Regions from separate parts of the Homo sapiens genome. Here region 1 is linked to region 2. Evidence: promoter capture Hi-C in 16 types of primary human blood cells and fetal thymus (Javierre and others, 2016). All regions are on one chromosome and are shown on one strand. Each heading gives the region's core, a stretch centred on a gene start or on the middle of the fragment in contact. The rest is flanking DNA. Distances are from core to core; before and after follow the strand shown.

The links. The method cuts DNA at HindIII sites, captures the fragments that hold promoters and counts their contacts. A CHiCAGO score of 5 or more calls a contact.
Region 1: a fragment that was not itself captured here is called in contact with the fragment with the promoter of UTP14C in region 2 in 1 of 17 cell types (fetal thymus); the score reaches 5.1 in fetal thymus.

What each region holds. Positions count from the first base shown.
Region 1 is chr13:52,198,079-52,204,527 of GRCh38, forward strand. No RefSeq gene overlaps it. Among named protein-coding and RNA genes, the nearest start is that of NEK3, 42 kb to the left of the region's middle. The HindIII fragment of the contact is 304 bases long and covers 2,152-2,455 here.
Region 2 is chr13:52,021,352-52,027,915 of GRCh38, forward strand. It overlaps UTP14C (UTP14C small subunit processome component), which reads left to right and starts at 3,340. Exons shown (of 2, transcript NM_021645.6): 1 at 3,340-3,586. It overlaps ALG11 (ALG11 alpha-1,2-mannosyltransferase), which reads left to right. Exons shown (of 4, transcript NM_001004127.3): 3 at 2,655-3,586. The HindIII fragment of the contact is 12,744 bases long and covers 1-5,049 here.

The DNA of each region.
Region 1 (6,449 bases), core at 1,054-3,553, 180 kb after region 2:
AGCATATCTTTGGAGGAGTCCAGCATGAGAGCTTAGGATCAGTCCTATCCTGAGACACAGATAGGCATTCTTTGTTTTCTGCAGTGGGATGAGCAGATAGGAAGGACCAGCACCAAGAATCTGATTTGCTCTGGGGGTTGCATGGATGCAGAAGAACCACAGAGAAGGGGTTGGTCCAGCTGCCCAAAAGAAATCTTTGAAGCCCATGCTGACCAGTATCTAGAGTCCAGGACAACAGTTCTATTTACTGCCATACAACACAATAATGCTCACCCAACTTTTATAATCACCACCCTGATTCCAAAACATTCTATGAATAAATGATCATTTGAAAGTTGATAGCCAATGATTAGAAGTGGGAGTCAATGACTAGTGAAAAGCCGAAAAACTATGTTATGCATGGTATTCATAATAGCGTAGAAATACTAAAAATAGATAACTCTTACAAAGTTACAAAAATCACAGCAAAGATATTAAAATAGCACGTTACCTTAATGGTACAAGCAATTTCAATTCACCTTAATGAACTTCTCATGATATTTAATGTACCCCAGATTCATTTCTAACATTATTTAATTACTACATGAATTCTAAGAAACACTTAGATCTAGTAAATAATACATCTTGGAAAGATCTAAGTGAATAAATAATACATCTACAAAGATTCAGAAAAATTTAGAATATTCTGTCCATCTGCATGAAGTAATCAGTAGTTCATGCTAGTGGATCACACACAAAAAGGTAAACCATGAAGCCACTTCTCCCAAGTGACAGGATGGCAGAACACGAATGTCATGGCCCAGGTGAGGCTTACAGGCTCTGTCGCTACTTTGCTTGTGCAGCAAAATGTATCCTATTCTGCTGTTTGTTTTATGCCATTTTCCATCATACCTACTTTGTCTATGTATTTCACAGGCAATCAAATGTAATTTATTTTATTAATTGCTTTTTAGTCACGAGAATTGCCCATATACGTGACTTCATTTCCCAATAAATATGTCTGTAAATTTGTGTCTTTTATGTTCAAAGTAATCCTTTCCCCTAAAATCAACTCTGAATTAACTTTCAATGCCTCTGTGTAAAAAAAGTACATAAGACTGTTTCCAACAAAATCGGGGTGCAGCATAAATACCTGCAATGTGGAAATGAGATAATAACACCACTGACTGCCCACTGCACACTAAACAATTTACATCCTCATCTCATTTAATTTCCTCAATGACATCAGGATTATCCAACAAGCGCAGTCATGTGTCTCAGCAGGTGTATGAAAACCTGTAACAAGGAGTCCAGGAATGGTCAATATCTGGAAATCCAACTAGCCAGGCCAGCAATGGCCTCAGTTTTCTGAGGTTTGCTCTTTGTGAAATAAGCCTGCAGAATAAACCCAGTTGTCCAGCAGTTTCAGCTACCTACTTCAATTGACTTGTGTCTCTACTAGCAAAAGTATTAATGGATTATGGACATCTTTCCAAAGGCAATGTACTAGCTAAAGGCACAGAAAGAAGGAGAGAATGAGGCTGGATGGACTTACTGGGGGCATAACTCATCGTGAGGTTTCCTGATCTGGGTGAGGGATGATGTGTGTGGTACATACTGGATGTGGTATTTCCTTTTTTTCTTAGGTGGATTAAGAGCTGTTTTGTCGGGCCGGACGCGACAAAACAGGGATCACGCCTGTAATCCCAGCACTTTGGGAGGCCGAGGCGGGCGGATCACAAGGTCAGAAGATCGAAACCATCCTGGCTAACATGGTGAAACCCTGTCTCTACTAAAAATACAAAAAATTAGCCGGGCGTGGTGGCAGGTGCCTGTAGTCCCAGCTACTAGGGAGGCTCAGGCAGGAGAATGGCGTGAACCCAGGAGGCACAGCTTGCAGTGAACCAAGATCACACCACTGCGCTCCAGCCTGGGCGACAGAGCGAGACTCCGTCTCAAAAAAAAAAAAAAAAGAGCTGTTTTGTCTCTGCATCTTTCAAGTTGGGAAATTTTTATCTTTCTTTCTGGATCTGTCTGTCTGTCTATCTATCTATCTATCTGGATAGATAGATCTCCAGCTGGTCTATCTTATAAACCAGATCAAACTACAGTATCAAACACAGCCTAAAACAGCACTTTAGGAGGCCAAGGTGGTGATTACTGAAGCCCAAAAGCTTGAGACCAGCCAGGGCAACTTGGTGAAACCTCACCTCCACAAAAAATACAAATAAATAAATAAATTAGGTGGGCATGGCGATGTGTGCTTGCAGTCCCACCTACTCTGGAGGCTGAGGTGGGAGGATTGCTTAAGCCCAGGAGGCAGAGGCTGCAGTGCCACTGCACTTCAGCCTGGGTGACAGAGCAAGAGCCTGTCTCAAAAAAAAGAACGGCAGCAAAAGATGAACATAAGTGCATGTTTATATAATATATAGGTAGATGATATTAGTGTAACTGTATAACACTATGTGAAAAATGAAGCTTTAGTCCCCTTGGAATACACAGGTGAGTATGACTTGTTCCCTGCTTCAAGGGGCTGGTGATCTAGCAGAGATCACAGATGTGGAGCAGGTAAACTAACAAGATAGGCAATGCAACAGGTGCCAGGCCTGTGGAGGCCCAGAGAGGTTGCACCCAGATGGATGAGTTTCCTAGATTTCATTAGCTTCTTCACAAGCGCTTTAGTGCCCAAAGCCAAAGGACAAAGTAAGAGGGAGGGGCACGGAAAGCCCCTCAGCAGCAGGAGGACTTATGGGAGATGGGACGGAAGATGAAGTGGTTTCGTGCCCTTCAAATTAGATTGTCTAGGTACTTGTCTTTCCCCTCCACGTAAGACGACTCGTTCTTAGTATATTCATGTGTAAAACTGCCTTGGATTTTAGGTGCATGGAAGACCAGGATCATGTCACACTAGTGTGTATTGCACAGCATATGACATAGAACTATGTTGAAACAGTGCTTAGCACATGACTTTTGGAGACGATAGAGATATGACCAGGCAGAACTGTCCTCAGGTCAATTTCTAAAGTGCATGAGAGTACTCTGGTTCCCCCAGCCCATCCTCTTGCCTTCTTGTACTCATTCCCCCCGTCCCTTGGCCCCTCTCTATGTTGCCTTTTAGCTTCTCAGAGCCTCCTTGCTTTGGGTCTCACCCAGGCCTGACACCCTTGCCGAGACCTCTCTAAATTAGCCTTTCGTCCCCTCTCCTACCTGTCAAACTGCTCTCTCATCTATCCACCAAGGGGAGGGCTATGTTGTTAAACTAACACTAATGTATGAAAGACCACATTGCTAGCTTACACTTGTACTATCTCATAAAAGTTAATTTTTAAAAGAGGTGCTTTCAAATTTCAATAAGCAAAGGCTTCAGCTGAGATTATTTTCTTTTTGCTTTCCTGGCCTCTGAAGTTATGCTTTCAGGAAACTGCTTCTCTGTCTAAGTGTTAACCTAAGCTGGCCCTTAGATGCATTTGTTATGTTCAAGTGCCCTCTGGAGGCAAACATAGTCTCTTGTTAGATAAAAGACATGCCTGCCAACGACCCACAAATGATTGGCCCCCGTGCTGTGGGGTCCATTCATTCCCATCTTTGTGCATTCCCAGCACAGCCCTGCCTCAGGGCCTTCAGCTTAGGCATGGAAAATTCTTTGGCCTGGAATAGCTGTCCCAAAGATTGTCCCATGACTGATTCCTTCATACCATCCACTTCAGCTCAGCAGTGCTTTCTCAGCCGTGCACCGCATCTAGCCAAGTCGACCTTCCCACTCTGTCATGTCGCGCTGTTTCCTTGTCTTCCGGCACTCAGCACTATCTGAAATAATCTTCCGTTCACTCAACACGTTCATCAAGTGCCTGACCTAGGCCCTGTCTCATGCATTTGGGATAGATCAAGGTACAAATGCAACATGTTCCCTGCCCTGGCGGAATGTACAGGTCTTGGGAAACACGTGGTTTCCTTTCTCATCATCAGCCTCCCTGCTGGAATGTAAGCTCAGTGAGAGCAGGGACCCCTCATCAAGGGGCAGCCTCATTTACTACCTTATCCCAAGAGCCTAGAATTGTGCCTGGTACATCCTTCATGGTCAATCAATATTTGTGGAATGAATAAACAAATGTTTATATTAGCTAGACACAGTGGCTGAGGCGAGAGGTTAGCTTGAGGCCAGGAGTTCGAGACCAGCCTGAGCAACATAGTGAGACCTCTGTCTCACAAAGAAATCTTTTTAAGTTTATATTTTCTATCAGGATACACAACTAACATTTTAAACTTATTTTGCTGTGACAAAGTTCATTCATTCCATTATCACAAGTCTATAAAATGAGACAAACTGTATACCTCATTATTATTCAAATGATCCATAACAACAATAGTTAGCATTTATTGACCACTAAGTATTAGACACTATAATAGTGCTTTATATGTATTGTCTCATCTTCACAAACTTTCCTGAGGCAAGTAACACCATTTTTCACTTTTAAGATGAGAAATTTGAGGCTTACAGGAGCTTCTCACTATCACAAAATCATCAGGTGGGAGAGCCAGCTTTTGAGGACCGGACAGTCGACCCAGAGTCCATGCTGTCAGCCTCCTCCACACAGCTATGTTCACATCAGGAAGTCTGTATTACTCAGCGGCTCCCTCTACCATCCTCTAAAGAAACCCTGCACTCTCTTAGCAGGGCCTGTGAGACCCCTCAAGATCAGCCCTGCCTCCTTCGCTAGTCTCCTTCCCATTACCTCTCCTCCCACCCTGACGGGAGCCCCTGCAGCTCCCAGACGCGGCCATGCCTTCCCCCATCTCCTTGCCATCCAATGCTGTGTTCCCTTCCTCTTCCCTGCCTAACTCCTACTCCTACTTCAAGGCTCAGCTCTTGCCCCAAGCTCCAGAACATTTCCTGGTCCTCTGGGCTGGGTTCTGTGACCATGCTCTACTGCTCCCAGCCCCCTGTGCCTGGCTTTGTGATTCTCAGTGAACGAAATGAGGTGCGGCTTTTCATCTCCAAATTTCCGGTTCTTAATTGGAACAGAGAAATTGACTAAATACTTTGAATGATGAACATTTGGGAATTGGCCATGTTTTACAAATTTAGGCACAGTGAGGCAAACAATCCCATTGTAAATAAGAGGGTTAGTGCTGGGCACAGTGGCTCACACCTGTAATCCCAGCACTTTGGGAGGCTTAGATGGGAGGATTCTTTGAGGCCAGGAGTTTGAGAACAGCCTGGTCAATATAGTGAGACCTCCTTCTCTACAAACAAACACACAAACAAAATAATTAAAAATTAGCCAGGCATGGTGGCACAGGCCTGTAGTCTCAGCTACTTAGGAGGCTGAGGTGGGAGGATCATTTGAGTCTCGGAGCTCAAGGCTGCAGTGAGCTATGGTCACGCCACAGCACTCCAGCGTAGGTGACAGAGCAAGACTTTGTGTCTTAAAAAAAATTAAAAAGGTTAGAATGTGGTCCATGGAAGTCCTCAAAGGTACAATCGCATGAAGCTGAGAAGCAGCAGCATGGAGCAGGGGGTACTCAGACCATCAACTGGCAGAACCAGATCTTTCCTCTCATTCCCACCCCAAGAGACTTTTCCGACTCATCCAGCTGGAAGCAGAGAGGCTAGGATTTCCCCCTCAGGTGTCTGACCCAGAGCTTGCATGCTAATCTCTAAGGCAATGGCATCTCAACTCTGCTGGGCCTTTATTTGTGTGTCCTTTCAATGGTTATATTTGCCTGTATTTGCCCAGAATAACTAATTTAATGAAAGCATTTTAAAAAGATGTTATAAATGGCTAAATATCTAGTGATAGGTGCCATACAAATATTTAGATACAAAGGGTCTAAATCCAGATTATTTTTCTGGGGGAACCATTATTAATGTAATGATAAAATAGTACATTGTGGAAATGTACACACAAGAGAGAAGGAGAGAGAGAAGAGAAAGAGAGAGAAGCTGCATACACTTGCTATTTCACAACAATGATGCAATCCAACAGTTTACAAAGATAATTCCTTTAGACAGATACTGACTAAAACTCACAAGGGGCAGGGCCCTGGGCCCGGCAAGGAGTTAGTCACAGCTCCTGGGCCTCAGCAGGGAACACTGAGTAAGATACAAGTACTTGCCCTTCCTGGGCTTGATAGCTCACAACTGTAATCCCAGTGCTTTGGGAGGCCAAAGCAAGAGGATTGCTTGAGACCAGGAGTTCAAGAGCAGCCTGGGCAACATGGCAAAAACCCATCTCTACAGAAAAATACAAAAATTAGCTGGGGGTGGTGGCGCACGCCTGTAGTCCCAGCCATTCAGGACACGGACATGAACCTGGACCCAGGAGTTCGAGGCTGCAGTGAGCTGTGATCATGCCACTGCACTCAGGCCTGGGTGGCACAGCAAGACTCTGTCTCAAAAAAAAAGTATTTTCCCTTGAGGTTGGAGCCACAAGGACCACGAGTTTAGCAGGGGCTCCTGCCGGCTACTC
Region 2 (6,564 bases), core at 2,090-4,589:
CATGTTCTGAACCACATGCTAAACTGCCTGCCTTATGAAAAGACAGTGAAAATGAGAAAAGAGAATTCAGAGTAGAGAGAACAACCACTGCAAGTCCCCTAAGGCTGGTTGGAGCTTGGCGTGTTAAAAAAAAAGAATGCCAGTTTGGCTGCACCCTGGAGGGCAAAGGAGAGCATGGGAAGGGAGGTGACAGAGGGAGGCAGGTTCCAGATCACACAGGACTTGAGTGAGCAGGGAAATTAGTTTAGATTTTATTCTAAGTGCTATAGTAAACCAGTTTTGGGGTTACTGTTCTGTGACATGGTTTAGGGGCTGCCATGTTTGGTCTCCATCATACTGTTGCAATTAGATGGCAGCTGGGGCTGGAGGCATCTGAAGCCTTTTTCACTCACATTCTGGTTCTTGGGCTGGGATAACTGGACCTGCTGGGGGCTGTCGGGCATCTCTCTCACTGAGGAGCTTCTTCATGTGACTTGGTTGTGCTTGCATACAACATAGCAATCTCGGGCTGGTTGGACTCCGTACATGACAGCTGTCTTCTCCTAGCATGAGCATTCCAGGAGACAGGAAGTAGGAGCTGCCAGTCCCTTAGAGTCTATGTTGGGAAACTGGCACAATGTCACTTTTGCCATATTCTGTTGGTCAAAATAGTCACAGAGCCAGGTGTTATTCCAGGGGAGGGGACTTAGATGCCACCTCTCAGTGAGAAAAGTATCAAAGAATTTGTGGCCCGTCCGGGCACAGTGGCTCACACCTGTAATCCCAGCACTTCAGGAGGCCAAGTCTGGCAGATCACTTGAGGCCAGGAGTTTGAGACCAGCCTGGTTAACATGGCAAAACCCCTTCTCTACTTAAAAAATACAAAAATTAGCTGGGCATGGTGGCACACATCTGTAATCCCAGCTTCTCAGGAGGCTGAGGCACGAAAATCACTTGAACCCGAGAGGTGGAGGCTACAATAAGCCAAGATCACGCCACTGTACTCCCGCCTGGGCGACAGACAGAGCGAGACCCTGTCTTAAAAAAAGAAAGAAAAAACAAATGGAATTTGTGGGCATTTTTAGGCTACCAGAGATCACAATCTTTTTTCACATTTTAAAAGGCTCATTCTTGCTGCTGGGTAAAGAGTGACTGGGAAGGGGCCAGAGAGGAGCAGTTAGATTGTCATCCTTTAGGCTTCCCCAGCATCCTGTGGGTGTCTTTATCAATGCGTAGCACACAGTTTTGCAGTTATTTGTTTTGCATGTCTGTTTTCTCCACTGGACTGAACTTCTGAAGATAAAGACTCTCTCTCATCTCCATACCCCCAAAACCTGGCATCTCATTACTAGATGCTTAATAAATTTGTTTTTTTTTTTTTTTTTCAGATGGAGTTTCATTGTTGTTGCCCAGGCTGGAGTGCAGTGGTGCGATCTTGGCTCACCACAACCTCCGCCTACTGGGTTCAAGCAATTCTCCTGCCTCAGCCTCCCAAGTAGCTGGGATTACAGGCATGTGCCACCACACCACACATATTGGTCAGGCTGGTCTTGAACTCCTGACCTCAGGTGATCCACCCGCCTCGGCCTCCCAAAGTGCTGGGATTACAGGCGTGAGCCACTGCACCCAGCCAATAAATGTTTTATGACTCAAAGAATAATTATAAACAGAGGGAGACCAAAGTATTACAAGTCATTAAAGAATATACTTTTAGATATTTTCATACTAATTATATCTAATTGTGATATAGGCACAAGATCTAGCTTTTAAAGACTTGCATTTTTCAGATAAAAACCCTGAGTATTGCTTTAGTATTGTGATCCTATCTGAAGACAGGTTTGTTGAATCTTAATTCTTGTTTATAGTATTTTATTACCATTTTTTTTACTAAGAACACTGTCAAAACTTTTTAGTATTTCTTTAGACCATCTCATTCATAAATCAACACTTACTGTTGATGCCTGTTCTGTGTGAAACCCTCAGTGGAGGAAATAGCAAAGAACTAGAAGTCATGGTCTCATTTGAAGGACTGTACTTCTAATTCAATAAAAAATGTAGAAAACATCATTTTTAGTATGACCAACATGGAGAAACCCTGACTCTACTAAAAATACAAAATTAGCCGGGCGTGGTGGTGCATGTCTGTAATTCCAGCTACTCGGGAGGCTGAGGCGGGAGAAGCACTTGAACCCGGGAGGCAGAGATTGTCAGCCAAGATGGCGCCATTGCACTCCAGCCTGGGCAACAAGAGTGAAACTGTCTCCAAAAAAAAAAAAAAAATCAAATCTTCTTTATAACTGTAAGAAAATAGTTATCTACAACTTTTTGCTTGATTTTAACCTAATATATTCTTTTTTTTGTTTTTGTTTTTGTTTTTTTGAGACGGAGTTTCACACTTGTTGCCCAGGCAGGAGTGCAGTGATGCAGTCTCGGCTCTCAGTCTCTCAGGGTAGGTAGCAGGCTTTTTTTTTTTTTTTTTTTTGAGATGGAGTCTCACTCTGTCACCCAGGCTGGAGTTCGGTGGCATGATCACGGCTCACTGCAACCTCCGCCTCCTGGGTTCAAGCGATTCTCCTGCCTCAGCCTCCTGAGTAGCTGGGATTACAGGTGCGTGCCACCGTGTCTGGCTAATTTTTGTAACTTAATATATTCTTAACCATTACATTCTATTTTAGGTATCCTGAAGCAGTTTATGTTGTTTATACCGGCGATGTTAATGTCAACGGTCAACAGATACTAGAAGGTGCTTTCAGAAGATTTAACATCAGATTAATTCACCCAGTGCAGTTTGTTTTTTTAAGGAAACGCTATCTTGTGGAAGATTCACTGTATCCTCACTTCACACTGCTGGGCCAAAGTCTAGGATCCATTTTTCTTGGCTGGGAAGCTCTAATGCAGTGTGTTCCTGATGTTTACATTGATTCAATGGGATACGCTTTTACGCTTCCTCTGTTTAAGTATATAGGGGGTTGCCAAGTTGGAAGCTATGTTCATTATCCTACTATCAGCACCGACATGCTCTCTGTAGTGAAGAATCAAAATATTGGATTTAATAATGCAGCCTTCATTACCAGGAATCCTTTTCTCAGCAAAGTAAAGCTCATCTACTACTATTTATTTGCTTTTATTTATGGACTTGTTGGTTCTTGCAGTGATGTAGTCATGGTCAATTCTTCTTGGACACTAAACCATATTCTCTCACTATGGAAAGTTGGGAATTGCACTAACATTGTTTATCCACCTTGTGATGTGCAGACATTTCTGGACATTCCCTTACATGAGAAAAAGATGACCCCAGGACATTTGCTGGTTTCTGTTGGCCAGTTTAGGCCGGAAAAGAATCATCCATTGCAGATCAGAGCCTTTGCTAAATTGCTGAATAAGAAGATGGTTGAGTCACCTCCTTCGCTTAAACTTGTCCTCATTGGAGGTTGTCGTAACAAAGATGATGAACTTAGGGTAAACCAACTGAGAAGGCTGTCTGAGGATTTAGGAGTTCAAGAATATGTGGAATTTAAAATAAACATTCCATTTGATGAATTAAAGAATTATTTGTCTGAAGCAACAATTGGTCTGCATACCATGTGGAACGAGCATTTTGGGATTGGTGAGTTTGGCCTTTAAACAACTTGTTTGGTGCCATGAGATACACATTTTAAGTTCTTTTGATAAAATGATAATACTCTGGAAATCTGCATCATGCCCTAATTCTCTTGCCCTCATCCACCAAATGTGCTTTCCTCACTTGAGACCTTGTAAGATAGTAGTTAATAATAGCAGCTAGTATTTATTGACCAATTCCTGTGTGTGGGCCACTGTGTTGAGATTTTTACATGTATTATCTAATTTAAGCCTTTCTAAACCCGTTTGATAGGTGTTATTGTTATTCCCATTTTATAAATAAAGAAACTCAGGCACAGGAAGGTTTAGAAATTGCTCGAGTTCAGTTACACAGTAAGTGGTAGAGCCCGGATTCTAACCCAGATAGCCCCTGCTCTTAACAGCAACATTTTCTCTCTCCATCTAACCCCACTACATACTTACTGGTACAGATTCCTGGGCCCTACCCTAATCCTACAGAATGGCCAAATGAGAATCTCTGGACAAGGCCCAGGTAGATGTATTTTGATAATGCTGCTTAAGTGATTCTGTTATGCATCAAAAGTTGAGAACCACTGTTTGCATAGGGGCTTCTCACAGTAACTCTTTTAGTCTTTTATTGATTCTACCCTCACCATTGGAATGGCTCTCCTCTTTGTGCCAGATTGCATCATAAGTCTTCAACTTAAATCTCCTTGCACTTTAGCCTTTCTTGTTTATTCTGGCACAAACTGCTATCTCTATTCTGACCTGTTAAGCACACATTTTGCTATAAAATCAAGTACTGCTTTGTGTTTAATTTGGGTCCACATATATTTCTCAAGCGCTTTGTGCCTCACACTGTTAGTTGTTAGGGGAAATGAGGATAACATAAAAGTGACATTTCCTAAACTAAGACTTCAATTTCTCTTATACTCTTTTTACTCCTAGTTAGTAGTGTAGTGCTAGGCCCAGACATTAAGCAAGAACTTGTTGACCCAACCTGTTGCATGGGATCTGACCTCCTGTGCTTCCTTCCATAGAAACTTACTAAGCATTCACTCTGCTGAGCGCTTGGGTGGATGCTAGGGATGTGGTGGAGACAGGAGCTGCTTGGCCTGTCAGAGGCTTCCCACCCTCTGGTGGTACCAACAGGCTACACAGGCAAGTGCCGTGCCGTGCTGTGCCGTGTGCCAGGTGCTATGCTAAGGAAGTGCAGGGTGATGTGAAAGCGCCAAAGAGAAACCTAACACAGACTTGTGCGGGCAGGGAACAGTTGCCCAAGGAAATGATGTGACACTTGAGCAGGACCCGAACAATAGAGGTTAGCCAGGAGAGAGGGGAGAGTCTCCAGCAGAGGGAACAGCACTGTGACAGGAGTGACAACAGATGCATCAATAGGAACATTCAGCAGGAAGACAACAGAGAGGTGATATAGGCCAGGTTAAGCCAGTGGAAAAAAATAGCAGGATTTTAAGTATTGCACGTAAAAGCTTTCTGATTTCTCCAGTCCATTCTGGCCACATGGGGAGTGGATCAGTGAAGAGCAGGGAGAGCAAGACTGGAAGGGCAGTAAGATGAGCCGGCCTACTGTAGCAGCCCAGATGGAGGTGCTCATGAGCTGAACTTCGTAGGTGAACATGCTTGAGAAACATTCTGCAGTAGTATTGACCAGGACTTGGTGATTAACTGGATGTGTTAAATGAGGGAGGAAGAGAAGACTACCTAGGGTTTTGGGAGCAGGGCAGCTGTGAGAATGGTGTTGGCTTTCTCCCAGAGGGGAAATCCAAGAGCAAATGCCATTAATGAGCCAAGTTTTGAACCTGCAGAATTTGAGTTCATCTGTGGGACATGTGAGGGCATGCGTCCAGGAGGTAGTTTTGTATATAGGAGTCTGAAGTTGAGAGGAGTCTGGTCTGGAAATAAAAAATGAGGATTGTCCTTGTGCAGGTAGTTATCAAAGCTCCCGTGGATGTGGTTAAGATCGCCTGGGGAATATGTACAGAGTGAAAAGAGGCTCTCAGTACAAAATGCAGAGAACAGGAACAGCTGAGAAATGGGGAGAAGAAATGGAGAGGCGGGGAAAGCCATCCAAGTGCAGTGTCTTAGAAACCAAGGAAGAGAGTGTTTGGAGAAGAATGGAGAGGGCACAGATTCCGATGCTGCCCAGATGCTGGGGAAGGTAAGGCAGTCACTGGTGACCTGGGCAAGAGCAGTCTTGAGGGAGAAGTAGAAGCAAAAGTCAGACTATGAGCAAAAATCAAAAGTCAAGCACTCAGAAGTGAACAAGTAGAGTTGGTAAGTGCAAACCACACTTTCAGTAAGTTTATCTGTGAAGTACGGGGAGGGGGAGAAGAGACAGTGGCTAGGGGTGGGTGTTGCAGGACCTGAGAAAGGGCATGTGGTGCCCTAGCTTCCTAGCTGATAGGAAGGAGCCAGTAGAGAGGGAAAGGGTAAAAGATGCAGGTCTCTGAGAAAGTACAGGATGCTCTCCAGCTTCAAGCAGAATATGATATGAGCTACTGAATTCTGTTCTGCAGGGATTTCACCAGTTCTAAAAACATTTGGAATGATTTAATTTCTCTCCTATACATCCAGGATGATATCAGCTCTGTACCATCCTTCAGATAATTGGGAAAGCAGTCACTTGAATCATTCCCTGAAGGGCTTAATTCTCCTAGGAATATGGCTAAGAAGGGCTGGCTAGAGTAATTTATATTTCATGTGTATCATTTGGCAGAAACTAACCACAACTTTCATTTAGTTCAGCACTGTTGTTGGGCATGCAGTAGTCTCAAATATGCCAGAAATCCAGGCAGTAACATAAGCACGGCGATAGTATGCTTCACTTAGGTGATTCACTTTTTTATTTTTTCTGCTAATGTAATTTGAACTATTAAAATTGTTTTTTATATGTTTTTACTCCTTTTGTTTTTCTAATACCTGTTAATATTCTACCATCTTGCTAACATTCTCTAGTCTTCTTTTTTAATTATCTGCAATATA